Regions from separate parts of the Homo sapiens genome. Here region 1 is linked to region 2. The links are contacts of gene promoters, found by promoter capture Hi-C in human tissues and cell types (Jung and others, 2019). All regions are on one chromosome and are shown on one strand. Each heading gives the region's core, a stretch centred on a gene start or on the middle of the fragment in contact. The rest is flanking DNA. Distances are from core to core; before and after follow the strand shown.

Region 1 (6,728 bases), core at 515-3,014, 190 kb before region 2:
CACATGTCACACAGTAGCCCATGGCAAACTCAGTGCTGTAACTGTTGGTGCCACGTTCCTACTAAAAATAGAAATTGCACATAACACACATGCACTTACATATATTTGCAACAACTTAGTCACTGTAAGTAAAGTAGTAAATACACAATGAGGAATTTTTTTTTATTTCCCAGGAAGGCTTAAATTAGATACCATATAATTCAGATTTAAAATAGTCGAAAAAATACTAACCTTATCTTAAAGTGAGTAGACTCTAATCGAGTGATATTCAAATAAAACTGGCTTTCCAGGGTTTTGTAGTGCCAGAATTTTTGTTAAAATTTGAGATCTGATTATTTCAAACTAGCAACAGAAGACCAGGAAGTTAATAATGCAGTGTATTTGTGCAAACAGCTGTTTTTGCATTGACATTATTAAATGTACAGAGGGCCTGGGAGCAGTGACTCATGCCTGTAATCTCAGCACTTTGGGAAGCTTAGACTGGAGGATTACCTAAGGCCAGGAGTTCAAGAACAACTTGGTCAACCCCATCTCTACAAGTAATAAATTTAAAATTTTTAAAAGTTAGCCAGCTGTACTGGTGTGTGCCTGTAGTCCTAGCTACTCAGGAGGTTGAGACAGGAGGACTGATGGAGCCCAGGAGTTTGAGGCTGCAGTGAGCTATGATAGTACCACTGCACTCCAGCCTGGGTGACAGGGAGAGATGCTGTCTCTAAAATAAAAATAAACATACAGAGACACATTTAACGTAGAAATAGATCAGAAGTTGAATCTTAATGCTCATAAAGCTAACACTTTACAATTCAAGTTACTATTGATTTTATTTTATTTAATTTATTTATTTATTTATTTATTTGAGACAGAGTCTCACTCTGTTGCCTAGGCTGGAATGGAGTGGTGCAATCTTGGCTCCCTGCAATCTCCGCCTCCCAGGTTCAAGCGATTCTCCTGCCTCAGCCTCCTGAGTAGCTAGGATTACAGGCATGTGCCACCATACCCAGCTAATTTTCGTATTTTATTTTATTTTATTTTTGTAGAAACGGGGTTTCGCCATGTTGGCCAGGCTGGTCTTGAACTCCTGACCTCAGGTGATCCGCCTGCCTCAGTCTCCCAAAGTGCTGGGATTACAGGTGTGAGCCACCGCGCCCAGCCGAGTTACTATTAATTTTAAATGGCAAAACCAAACAACCAATATTGTTGGAGCAGAAGAATGCTTATCACTGCAATTCTATTACCTTTGCCTGTTACCTGTCTTTATTTTCCCTTTATTTAGAACCTGAAGGGTGCTTTTAGGGTGGAAGAATATAAAGTTTAAGAATTTGCTTAAGTGAAACACTTGTTATATCTTCATTCTAGTAACATTCTAGTTTTTGTAGAAGGGCCTGATCCCTCTCTCTGACCCATTTAACTCTGTCTCCTAAACACAGTCTAATTCAGTTCCTTTTGTATGACATAAAAATCAGAATAAGAAGTACCTGACATACTTTCTACATCTGTAGTTGCGGAAGACATTTTAATAGGTAAGAGCAAAAGCACAAGCCTGCATACTTCTTTTTTAACCCTGTGGATCATTTAAATAAATCCTTTCGTATTATTCCAAGATATAAGTGCATTGTGATGATGTATAAGAATTTAAATATAAGGCAGTCTGCAAGCAGGGTTTTTTATGTAGATGGGCAGCAGTTTATTGTAGGAAATTATGTGTATGTACTTAAATTAAAGCATCAGCACTAGGTGTCCGCAGATTACATCAAAGAGGGCCTCAAATTGAGTATCAGTAAAATCGCAAGAAATGGACTACATCCTTTACAAGGACACCTCTGGTACAACATTTTCCTGTTCAAACATTAATTTCCACATAGCCTGGCATTTGGCAGGTTATGTGCCATGAATTCTGTGGATATTAGTAGGCATCATGTTGAAGGAAGGGTTCTGTAGTCAAATGCGGACTAAATTAGTTTTATTCTTTTTCCACTTTAGGTCTTCTCATAGCCTTTCTTTGCTAAGGACATTGTGACTCTCCAGAGAGCAACAGTGATGGCTCTAGAATGTCTAGGAAAAAGAAGGGCTTAATGTCAGGAGTCTGCTTGGGGCACACAACACTAGAAGATGTCCTTCTGCACATTGTTTCATATCGAGTGTGTATTTTGTGGTGATCTGGGATGCTGATAGAAATAATTGGATGTTAGTGCCCTAAGCCACCTCTGCACTATTTTTTTTATTTATTTATTTTTTGAGACAGAGTCTCGCTCTGTCACCCAGGCTGCATTGCAGTGGTGCAATCTTGGCCCACAGCAACCTCTGCCTCCCAGGTTCAAGCGATTCTCCTACCTCAGCCTCCCAAGTAGCTGGAATTACAGGCACCTGCTACAACACCCGGCTAATTTTTGTAGTTTTTGTAGAGACGAGTTTCACCATGTTGACCAGGCTGGTCTCAAACTCTTGACGTCAAATGATCCACCTGCCTCAGCCTCCCTAAGTGCTGGGATTACAGGCGTGAGCCACCGCGCTTGGCCCTCTCTGCGCAATTATTGATATGTAGCATTTTCACACTTCTATGGCCATGAAACCATTTTGAACCTGTATCAGAGGCGCACACTTTAGGAAAAACCAATACAGACAATAGTGCCTCTTGTTACAGTTTTTGCTTTTATCAGTGTGTTGGAAAAGGTCCTCTTTATCCCCAAGATCAGTTAATGCTTCCTTATGTTGTCATTTCTGTGGGCTTTTTTCCATTTAATGTTTTAATCCAGTTGAAATGTATTTTTGTATATGATGTAAAAGACATTCAACTCATTTTGTGTATGTATTTATTGATTGAAAAATGCCAGTTATTTCCAAACCTTGCGTTAAATGTGTTTTTGTTTTTCTTTTCAGGTATGGAACCCTTCAGATCAAAGCTTACCAATAAATTCAGTATGTAGAACAGATTAACGTAGTTGAAATGAGGAAGAATGAGAGTTATCTCAACCAGCCAGCACCCCCTATCCCCATTCCCACACTTTCCCTCATGGGAGGCTGTCGGGAGCACTTCGAAAACCACTGGAAAGGCCGGGCACGGTGGCTCATGCCTGTAATCCCAGCACTTTGGGAGGCCAAGGCAGGCAGATCACCTGAGGTCAGGAGTTCGAAACCAGCCTGGCCAACATGGCGAAACCCCATCTTTACTAAAAATACGAAAATTAGCCAGGTGCGGTGGTGCATACCTGTAATCTCAGCTACTTGGGAGGCTGGGGCAAGAGAATCACTTGAACCTGGGAGGCAGAGGTTGCAGTGAGCTGAGATCGTGCCGTTGCACTCCAGCCTGGGTAACAGAGCGAGACTTCGTCTCAAAAATAAAAAAAAAACCCATTGGAAAAATTCATCCTCTCATAAATGACTTGAAATGCCACCTCCGTAATACACTACGTTAAAAATTTTACATACTCAAATTGTTTTTCTCTTTTTGTGCCAGGTCATACTTTAAGGAGCCCAAGAGCTTTATAACATAACAAAAGAAACTGAAATGTCTAATAAATGTGTACATAACAATATGAGTTGTTTGTGTTTTTTTGGCCTATAAAATTAGCATAGATCTTTAAAATAATATACAGTATTGGTAAGAGCTGAATAAATACCTTTAATATAGAGAAGGTTTAACTTAGTAAAACTATGTTTGGTAGATAATGTGTGTCAAAAGTTTACAATGCTCATATCCTTTGATCCAGCATCTCACTTATAGGGTTTCACCCTAAAGAAATAAACAGAAATGTGTGAAAAAAATTTGCTGTTGTTTATATTATTGACAAAATTGAAGATATCAATAACAGTATGAGACTGGGTAAGTGAATCATGGCACATCCCCATGAGATGGGATACTCTTCAGCCATAGAAGTGATATTGTAGAAAGAAAAATATTGAGTGCTTGTGATGAACCTGGCACCATACCAAGCACCTCATTTATACTGTCTGAAGCCTAACAATACCCCATACGATAGGTATTATTATTCCCATTTATAGGTGAGAACACCCTCAGAATTCTAAGTTAGGTAAAGTTCAGCTAGTAAGGTAGTGTTGGTAGTGTAAGGTAGTGTTGCTGGAATTCAACACATGTCTACTCTTAACCCTTATTCTTAGCCACTGTCATGATACAGGAAAATACTATTTACTGATAAGTTTCTAGTAATTTAACTGACATTAAACACATGAAAACTATATGCAATTCCTTCCTTTCCAAAGTTCCTAGGTTTGGTAATTTTTTATCCTAAAATGAATTTATATGTTTTTTATTGCTTATGGAAGTATTAGATGCCTACTCTTAAGAATTCAAACTGTACAGAAGATTATAAAGTAGCTGCATCTTTAGTCATAAATTATACCCTCTGTATATGATACGATAGATTCATAGGCTCTTTCTGTTCCCTCAATTCTGTTCTTGCTGTGGTATCAGCTTGTGGGCCCTGGTTGGGGATAGAGATGAACTAGAAAGGCAAACTGAGTGGGGTGCAGGTGTGAGTGGTTGACTTTCACCACAGGTGATTAGAAACACTGATTCTGGAGCCAATCTGGCTAGATGGAGTCCCAGCTCTTACTTACCAGCTGTTTGGACTTGGACAACTAATAGGAGTGCTTACTGTGTGTGATATGCATACATGGTTTCCCCATTTGTCTTTATGAGTTAGATGTTTTTATTCCCTTTTTATACAGATGACAAAACTAAAATTCAGGGAGGTTACGTATGGAAGTAGAATGAATCATTAGACCCATTTCTAGGACTACAGACAAGATAAATACTGAAAGCTGCTTGTCCAGGAGATAGCAAAATGCTGACAAATGAGAAACAGACCTGCATAGCCATCACACCCTCTAGAACCAAGGGGTAGTGTTTTAAGATAGAGGACTGGGTGAGTATCAGAAAGCTGTGCTTTGAAAACCTGACTGCTTTTAAGTATTTCCTGTTTTGTTCTCATTTTGTAGGTATTAGAATTATTTCTGAATTATCAGTCTCTCATTTGTGCTTTGGAGAAGCAGAAAAGGCAAAAGGGGTCTTTGGCCATCTTCTGCTGGAGCTTCCAGGGAGGATGTGTCTCCAAGAGACCAGATGTACCGAGTTTGAAATCCCAGAAGCCCAAGAGGAAAAGAATCACAGGGAGGAAAAGACTGTCCAAAGGCTTCTGGAGTCTTCTGTTCTCTAACCTTGGAAGGTTTTGAACAATATTTCTCAGAGGATAGCCTTTCACTTATTCATCTGTCCAGCATGACTCATCCCCGGGAGTGTTGAGTAAGTGAAATTTTGCTGTATTCATGTTTTTGTGACTTATAAAATAGGATGATAAGGAGAGAACATGAACTCTGGAGTCAGACCTGTTACCTCGGACATGATACTCTTAGCTTTGTCATTTAGTATTTGAGTAATTTTGGGCAAGCTAACATCTCTGGTCGTTCTCATCTGTAAAATGAGAATAAATGAAACCCACTAACCAGAATTGGTATGAAAATGAAATGTGGCAGAAAAAAAATGAAAGTGAATAGTATCACCACTGACACACAAGCACTAAAGGCCCTTCCTGTCTCCATCAGGTATGGATTTGGGGCAACATTTGGCCAGGTCTTGTTTATCTTTCTGTTCATCTATTCTGTCTAATTCAGTGCTTTGTTTACAACGAATGTCTTACAAATGCTGACTGAACACTAGCATACCTGCATGAACAACAGGTAAATAAATTTTAGATGTGTTTTAATGTTTATTAATCTATCCTGTCAGAGAAGAACTGCCAGTTATAGATAAATATGATGCCAGGTCAGGGCTGAAGAGTTGGGCAGGTTGTTATCTGCATGGGGTCACTAGGTTCCAGTGGAGAGGTGGGGGCTAAGCTCTCACCCGCTCTGCAGCCACCTGGCACCCGGTTTCAGTTTCCTGAAAGGGAGCCTTCTACTTGCTGACGACTGCCTCATCTCTTCTGAGGTTTCCTCTGATAAACAATTTTCTCTGCTTTTTTTTTTTAATTATGAAATACTTAAAATGTAAAGGAGATAATGTGACACACATTTACCCATAATTGAGATTGCCATAATTGCTATAACTTTTTCAAAATTTTGACTTAATTTCAGACTTTTAGAAAAATTGGCCAGGTGTGATGGCTCATGCCTGTAATCCCAGCACTTTGGGAGGCCAAGGTGGGTAAATTACTTGAACCCAGCAGTTCGAGACTTGCCTGGGCAACATAGTGAGACCTTGTCTCTACTGAAAACAAACTAAAAAAAAAATTAGCCAACCATGGTGGTGCATGCCTGTAGTCCTAGCTACTCGGGAAGCTGAGGCAAGAGGATAGCCTGAGCCCAGGGGAGTTGGGGCTGAAGCCTGGGTGACAGAGGAAGACCTTGCCTTCAAAAAAACAAAAAAAAAGAAAAGAAATTCTTTATATTACAAAGAATTCCCATATACCTTCCACAGTTTCCCAAATGTTAATATTTTCCCACATTTGCTTTATCCTTGTCTCTTGATATTACATATGCTGGTTATATTTTTCTGAACCATTTAGGAGAAATTTGCATACATGATGACTGTTTCCTCCTAAATACTCCAGTTCTTATTTTCTAAAAATAAGGACATTCTCTTACACAACCACAGAACAATTATCAAAAGCTTGGAAACTAACATTGATACAATACTTTAATCTACATACCTCATTCAGATTTCACCAGTTGTCCTAATAATGTAATAAAATTATTTCTGGATTATGTCTATC
Region 2 (7,036 bases), core at 2,796-5,295:
AGGCATCATTACCTGACTTTAATATATATTACAAGGCTGGCTGGGCATGATGGCTCACACCTGCAATCCTAGCACTTTGGGAGGCTGAGATGGGCAGGTTGCTTGAGCCCAGGAGTTTGAGACCAGCCAAGGCAACATGGTGAGACCCTGTCTACAAAAAATACAAAAAAAATTAGCTGGGTGTGGTGGTGCACACCTGTAGTCCCAGCTACTAGGGAGGCTGAGGCAGAAGGATCTTCTAATAGATTTTTCTGTATTTAATACATCCTTTAAAATACCTGTTAAGTCAGGTGTGGTGGCATGCACTTATAGTTCCAGCTATTGCAGAGGCTGAAGCGGGAGGATCCCTTGAGCCCACGAGATGGAGGTTGCAGTCAGCTGAGATGGCACCACTGCATTCCAGCTTGGGTGACAGAGTGAGACCGTGTCTAAAAAAATTTTTTTTAATTATCTGATGAAAATATGTCATGGCAAAAATAAACAGAATTTAAAAATTAAAATTAAAAGAAAGCTTTGAAAAAAATTTTAAAAATAAAAAATTGGCCAGGTGCAGTGGCTCACACCTGTAACCCCAGCACTTTGACAGGCCAAGGCAGGTGGATCACCTGAGGTCAGCAGTTCGAGACCAGCCTGGCCAACATGGGGAAACTCTGTCTTCACTAAAAATACAAAAATCAGCCAGGTATGGTGGCAGGTGTCTGTAATCTCAGCTACTCAGGAGGGTGAGGCAGGAGAATCACTTGAACCTGGGAGGCGGAGGTTGCAGTGAGCCAAGATCAAGCCATTGCACTCTAGCCTAGGAGACAAGAGCAAAACTCCATCTCAAAATAATAATAATAATAATAATAATAATAATAATAATATAAAAACAAAAAATAAAAAATAAAAGCTTTGTGTTTCTCAAAACTCAAAAACTCATAAGACAATATGTAAGAGCCGTTCATTTTGCTACATATGAATTATACCTCAATGAAAAATATTAAAAGGCAAAAAAGCTATATGAAAGGCAAAAATAAAAATAATTCATAATTCTACCACCTTAATATTTGAGCCATTTTACCAGATTGCATGTAATTTCTTTCTGCTGTTTAGTGATGTTTTGTAAAAATAAAGTATTGTAAGTATGTAGCAATAAGCAGCAATGGCATTTTGACTCTAGATATCGCTATCATTTTCAGAGAGTTTGCAATGTATAAAATGTGCTGAATTCTTAAGGTTTTAAATTCCAATTTTAGGTCTAACAGATTTTTTTTTTCTAAGAGTCTCACTTTTTACCTAGGCCAGAGTCCAGTGGTGCAACCATAATGCACTGCAACCTCCCACTTCAGCCTCCCTAGTAGCTGGGACTACAGGTGCATGCCACCATGCCTGACTGTGCAGATATTTTATAGGATGTATTAAATACATAAAAATCTATTAGAAGATTTTGCTGGACTTGGTTGATATAAAACTATTACTCTGGTGCAGAAACGAACGATGTTATGCTATGAACTGATTAATCAAAACTTTAAAATAGCCAGACGCGGTGGCTCATGCCTATAACAATCCCACCACTTTGGGAGGCCAAGGCAGGAGGTTCACCTGAGGTCAGGAGTTCAAGACCAGCCTGGCCAACATGGTGAAACCCCAACTCTACGAGAAACTCAAAAATTAGCCAGGCGTGGTGGCATGTGCCTGTAATCCCAGCTACTCGGGAGGCTGAGGCATGAGAATTGCTTGAACCCAGGAGGCAGAGATCATGCCACTGCACTCCAACCTGGGCAACACAGTGTGACTCCATCTCAAAAAAAACTTTAAAATATATGGATACCCTCTAGAAGAATTTATTCTACTTTAAAATACAATGGCCATCACCAGACCATAGCCTATTCCCATCTAAAACTGTAGTTATTACCACAGAATTGTAGTACAAGACAATTTGAACATCCTCATTGTTGTTGTAAATTGATTTCTACTCTGAAAAAGTATTTTATCTCACAACTAAAATAGATTATATTCTCCCAGAGAAACAAACTCTGAGGTGTTTTGCCACTCCTATTATATATGAAAAGGGATGACCTCAATTACTTTTTCATGGAAAATGATCCAACCCAATGCAATGGAGCAGAGTTGATAACTGTATCAAGAACACTAAAGGTTGAGGCCAGGCACGGTGGCTCATGCCTGTAATCCCAGCACTTCGGGAGGCTGAGGTGGATGATTGCTTGAGCCCGGGAGTATGAGACCAGCATGGGAAACAAAATGAGACCCCTGTCTCTACGAAAAAAAATTTACAAGTTTGCCAGGCATAGTTGAAGTCTTAGCTACTTGGGAGCCTGAGGTGAGAGGATCACTTGAGCCAGGAGATTGAGACTGCAATGAGCCCTGATTGGGCCACTGTGTCCTGGGACACAGGTAGACCTTGTCTTAAAAAAAAAAAAAAGGAAATACTAATGGTGGAGAAGCAGGTACAATTTAAGGGTTTGGGGTTTTTTGGTAACAGTTTCTTTTTTTTTTTTTTTGGAGACAGGGTCTCGCTCTATCGCCCAGGTTGGAGTGCAATGGTGCGATATCTGCTCACTGCAACTTCTGCCTCCTGGGTTCAAGTGATTATCCTGTCTGCTAATAGTATTAATCCAGAGTAGCTGGAATTACAGGCGCGCGCCACCACACCTGGCTAATTTTTGTATTTTTAGTAGAGATGGGGTTTCACCATGTTGTCCAGGCTGGTGTCCACTCCCGACTTCAAGTGACCCACCCGCCTTGGCCTCCCAAAGTGCTGGGATTATAGGCGTGAACCACCGCACCCGGCCAACCTCAATAAGATTTAATTCAAGTACTGTACAATTCAACTATTTAAAATGTACAATCAACTGGCTTTCAGTAGATTCAGAGTTGTGTGACTATCACCACAATCAATTTTAGATCATTTCCATCACTTCTAAAAGAAAACCTGTGTGAATTCATGAACAACAAAAAATATGGTACACACACAGTGGAATATTATTCAGCCTTAAAAAGGAAGGAAACTCTAACATGTTACAACATGGATGAAACTGGAAGATGTTTGGCAAAGTGAAATAAGCCCATCACAAATGGACAAATACTGTTTGATTCTATTTACATGAGGTACCTGGAGTAGTCGAATTCAAGGAAGCAAAGACTGATGGTTGCCAGGGGATGAGGAAGAGAAGAATGGGGAGTTGTTTAATGTGTATGGAGTTTCAGTTTGGGAAAATGAAAACAGTTCTACAGATAGTGGTGATGAGTGCACAGTGTGAACGTAGGTAGTGTAACTACACTTTAGGATGGTTAAAATTGTATATTTTATGTATATTTTACCACAATTTAAAAAGAACAAGAAATCCCATACGCATTAGCAATCATTCTGCATTCTCAACCAACCTCTGGGCAACCACAAATCTGCTTTCTTTCCTTATGGATTCGCCTATTCTGGACATTTCATATAAACAAAATTACACAACATATGGCCTTTTGTGTCTGGCTTCTTACATAGTGTTTGCCAGGTTCATCCATGTTGTAGCATGTATTAGTGCCTCATCACGTTTTATGGCCAAAACCATTCCATTGTATGGCTTACACCACAGTTATCCATTAATCGGTGATGGGCATTCATATTGTTTCCACTTTGGGGCTACTATGAATAATACTATGAACATTCGTGTAGAAGTCTCTGTGTGAACATATGTTTTCAATTCTCTTGGGTGTATTTATAAATACCTAAGAGTGGAATTACTGGATCATAGGGTAACTTTATGTTGAGTCCTTCGAGGGAATACTGGAATGTCTTCTAAAGTGACTAGACATTTTGCATTCCCTGAAGCAGCGTTTTGAATTTTTTAAACATAACATCATTTGCCTGAGATAACAACAAAAACCAAACGTAGACCTATTTTTTCTCTGCTTCGCTGGGAGGGAGCAAGAGTGAAGCTATTAAAACGTAAGGGAACAAGCCCGGCTAGTTCCCCTGCTGACCCGAGGGCGCGGGCGGTCCCGGCAGGCCCCGCGACGCAGCCAACGGCCGGGACGTGCGCGCATGCGCGCTAGGACTCCGCTCCGCCTACGCTGCAGGCGGAGAGCAACCGCCAAGCTTGGTGGGAGTCAAGGTGAGTGCAAAGCACTACAGCGCTGGGGTCCCACTAACTCGAGGTCACCGCTGTCAGTGGGAGGGGTCCTCATGAGTCTGGACTCGCTTTCATCCGCTTTGGTTGTGAAGTGTTTTCCTGCAGTCTTCCCCTCACCAGTTCATCCCCGGTGCTGACAGGGCACGGAGAGAAGACAGAATCCGCGCCTGTTCCACGTGCAGCAACACTCGGCGTTCGTTAGACTAAGGGAAGACAGGGAGTTAGAATTTTATCCCTGTTCCCTCACTTAACGCTTTTCCACAGGCTTCTATGTCTTTTCCCGACTTAATATGCCTCCGTGAAAACGCGTCCACTCCCCAGGGCCTCCGCTTTACGCAGTGACACCCAGACTTAGCTCTAACTCTTTTGATGCCACCGAACTCCAGGCCCTGATTTATGGCCCCCTCCTGCTTACATCTATCAGGGAATCCCAAGAGTCCTCAAAGTCAGGATATCTCAAGGGAACTTTTCCTCATGTCCTTAACACTTCTCCTTGGGCTCTGTATTTCCATTAGAGCAGCAGCATCCACCCATACCCATATTAAAACCCCACTTAGCTTTCGATTACTCTTCTGCGTATTGTAGACTGATCACCAGGTCCAGTGTGCAATCTTTAAAATTCTAGAATCGATCTCCTCCATTCCATTTCGTTCCTAATGCCCTGGATCAGGCCATCCAACTTGTAGGAATATCCCAATAGGTAGAAACTGATTATCAGCTCTCCCGCTATTCCAACCTACTTTCCACATTGGCAGCAGGCACAGGTTTCCAAAATAAAAATCTGACTATGGGCTAGGCGTAGTGGCTCATACCTGTAATCCCAGCACTTTGGGAGGATGAGACAGCTACCCAAGAGTTGGAGACCAGCCTGGGCAACACAGTAAAACTCCGTCTCTACAAAAAAATTAAAAATTATCTGGATGTGGTGGCACGTGCCTATAGTCCCAGGCTGAGAAGGGAGGATAGCTTGAGCCCGGGAGGTAGAGGCTGCAGCAAGCCGAGATCACGCCACTGCAACTCCAACCTGGGCAACATAGTGAGACCCTGTCTCAAAAAAAAAAAAAATCTGACTATAATACTAACCCCCTTAAAAAAACTTTGATGGCTTCCCTTTGCCTATATAATCTTCAAAAGCGTACATAATCTGGCCTCACCCAACCATTTAATTACCAATAGTCGCCCTTCATTCCACCCCAGAAACCTAATGTTCTAGTGCAGCAAAGATGTGATGTTCTGAACACAACACACATTTTGAGATCATTGTCCTTATGGCCACGGAGAAATAAACGCTAAAGTTTCACTTTTATGTTGTAGCAAAAAGGACAGTCTTAATTGGTTTTCTTTGGAAAGTAGCCTGAACTCCACGTAGTGGGTGTGTGGATCCAGTAGTGTAAAACTGATAATGAGGGTGGAAGGTGACCTCCATCTCTGGAACACTTTCTCTTTCTCTTCACCTCTCCTCCAATTAGTGAAATAGTCGTCTATCAAATGTCACCTTAAAGTAGAATTCATACCTTCTTCCCTATGACCCCACCATCTTCAATGAAAATGTCTTAAAATAATGGAAAATGTTATGACCCATATACAAGGATGACCCCAAATTTTGTGAAATATTTCATATATGTTGTTCCTTTCATGCTACCTGGTATATTCATATTTCTATTACAGCACTTAAATTGCCATGTAACTGTTTACATATATGTCTTCTCTCACTGCACTCTTTCTGAAGGATAGGGACAATATTTTACTCATCTTAGTATCCTTAAGTGCCTAGGACAATCTAGTATCCAACCTATAGTAGGTGCCAAATAAATATTTGGTAATGAGGCCGGGTGCGGTGGCTCACGCCTGTAATCCCAGCACTTTGGGAGGCCAAGGCGGGCAGATCACTTGAGGTCAGGAGTTCGAGACCAACCTGGCCAACATGGTGAAACTCCGTCTCTACTAAAAATACAAAAATTAGCTGGGCCGGGTGACACATGCCTATAATCCCAGCTACTTGGGAGACTGAAGCAGGAGAATCGTTTGAACCCAGGGGTGGAGACTGGAGTGAGCCAAGATAGTGCCACTGTACTCCAGCCTGGGCGACAGAGTTGGGACTCCATCTCAAAAAAAAAAAAAAAAAAAAAACAACCTGGTAATGAATGAATAACGTGTTAGTCATTATTTCTGACTTCTCTGTCTCTGCCTAGCAACTTCTTGAAAGGCAGGATCCAATCTTAATCATTTTATTTTAGCACCTATTAATCATTTTATTTCTAGCACCTGTTACAACTACTGACATATATTGTTTCCAATTAGTATTTGCTGTCTTTCAATGAATTTCACATATTCCATTCTTTACTCATTACTGTGGTTTAATGTTTTATGTTGGTCACTGACACAATATTTAAAATTGGAAGGGGCTTTAATCATCTGATACAACACTTTCCTTTCCTACAGATAGATACTGAGCCAAGAGAGGTCAGATGATTTCCCCATAGCAACCAGGAAATGCTGGGTCTAGAACCAAGTTCTCAGGTTTCCCAGTTTAATACTAATTCTACTATATTTTGTTACTTAGATTGAATTTATGAAACAACTTTTACCAGTTTCATTTTTTAAACAACACCTGGAAAGGACCCTCATCATCAGATATTGTTTATTTCAACAAACATTTTTGGGAGTACCTCTGTTAAGAGACATTTGAGGTTCCTGTTTTTAAGTTTTCGATCTTGTGGAGGATCTCATAACAGTCTTGATAAAAATGTTATTTGGGCTGGGCGCGATGGCTCACACCTGTAATCCCAGTACTTTGGGAGGCTGAAGCTGGCGGATCACGAGGTCAGGAGATCAAGACCATCCTGGCTAACACAATGAAACCCCATCTCTACTAAAAATACAAAAAATTAGCCGGGCATGGTGGCACACAC

The links. Contacts are between HindIII fragments. The study calls those that stand out against the background at their distance.
Region 1: a fragment that was not itself captured here is called in contact with the fragment with the promoter of MCMDC2 in region 2 in 1 of the 25 tissues and cell types used here (hippocampus).

What each region holds. Positions count from the first base shown.
Region 1 is chr8:66,674,765-66,681,492 of GRCh38, forward strand. C8orf44-SGK3 (C8orf44-SGK3 readthrough) reads left to right here. Exons shown (of 19, transcript NM_001204173.2): 2 at 4,957-5,260. C8orf44 (chromosome 8 putative open reading frame 44) reads left to right here. Exons shown (of 2, transcript NR_161217.1): 2 at 4,957-6,728. Among named protein-coding and RNA genes, the nearest start is that of C8orf44-SGK3, 11 kb to the left of the region's middle. The HindIII fragment of the contact is 5,996 bases long and covers 1-4,762 here.
Region 2 is chr8:66,866,726-66,873,761 of GRCh38, forward strand. MCMDC2 (minichromosome maintenance domain containing 2) reads left to right here and starts at 4,046. Exons shown (of 15, transcript NM_173518.5): 1 at 4,046-4,106. RefSeq lists an enhancer at 4,263-4,332. The HindIII fragment of the contact is 9,372 bases long and covers 701-7,036 here.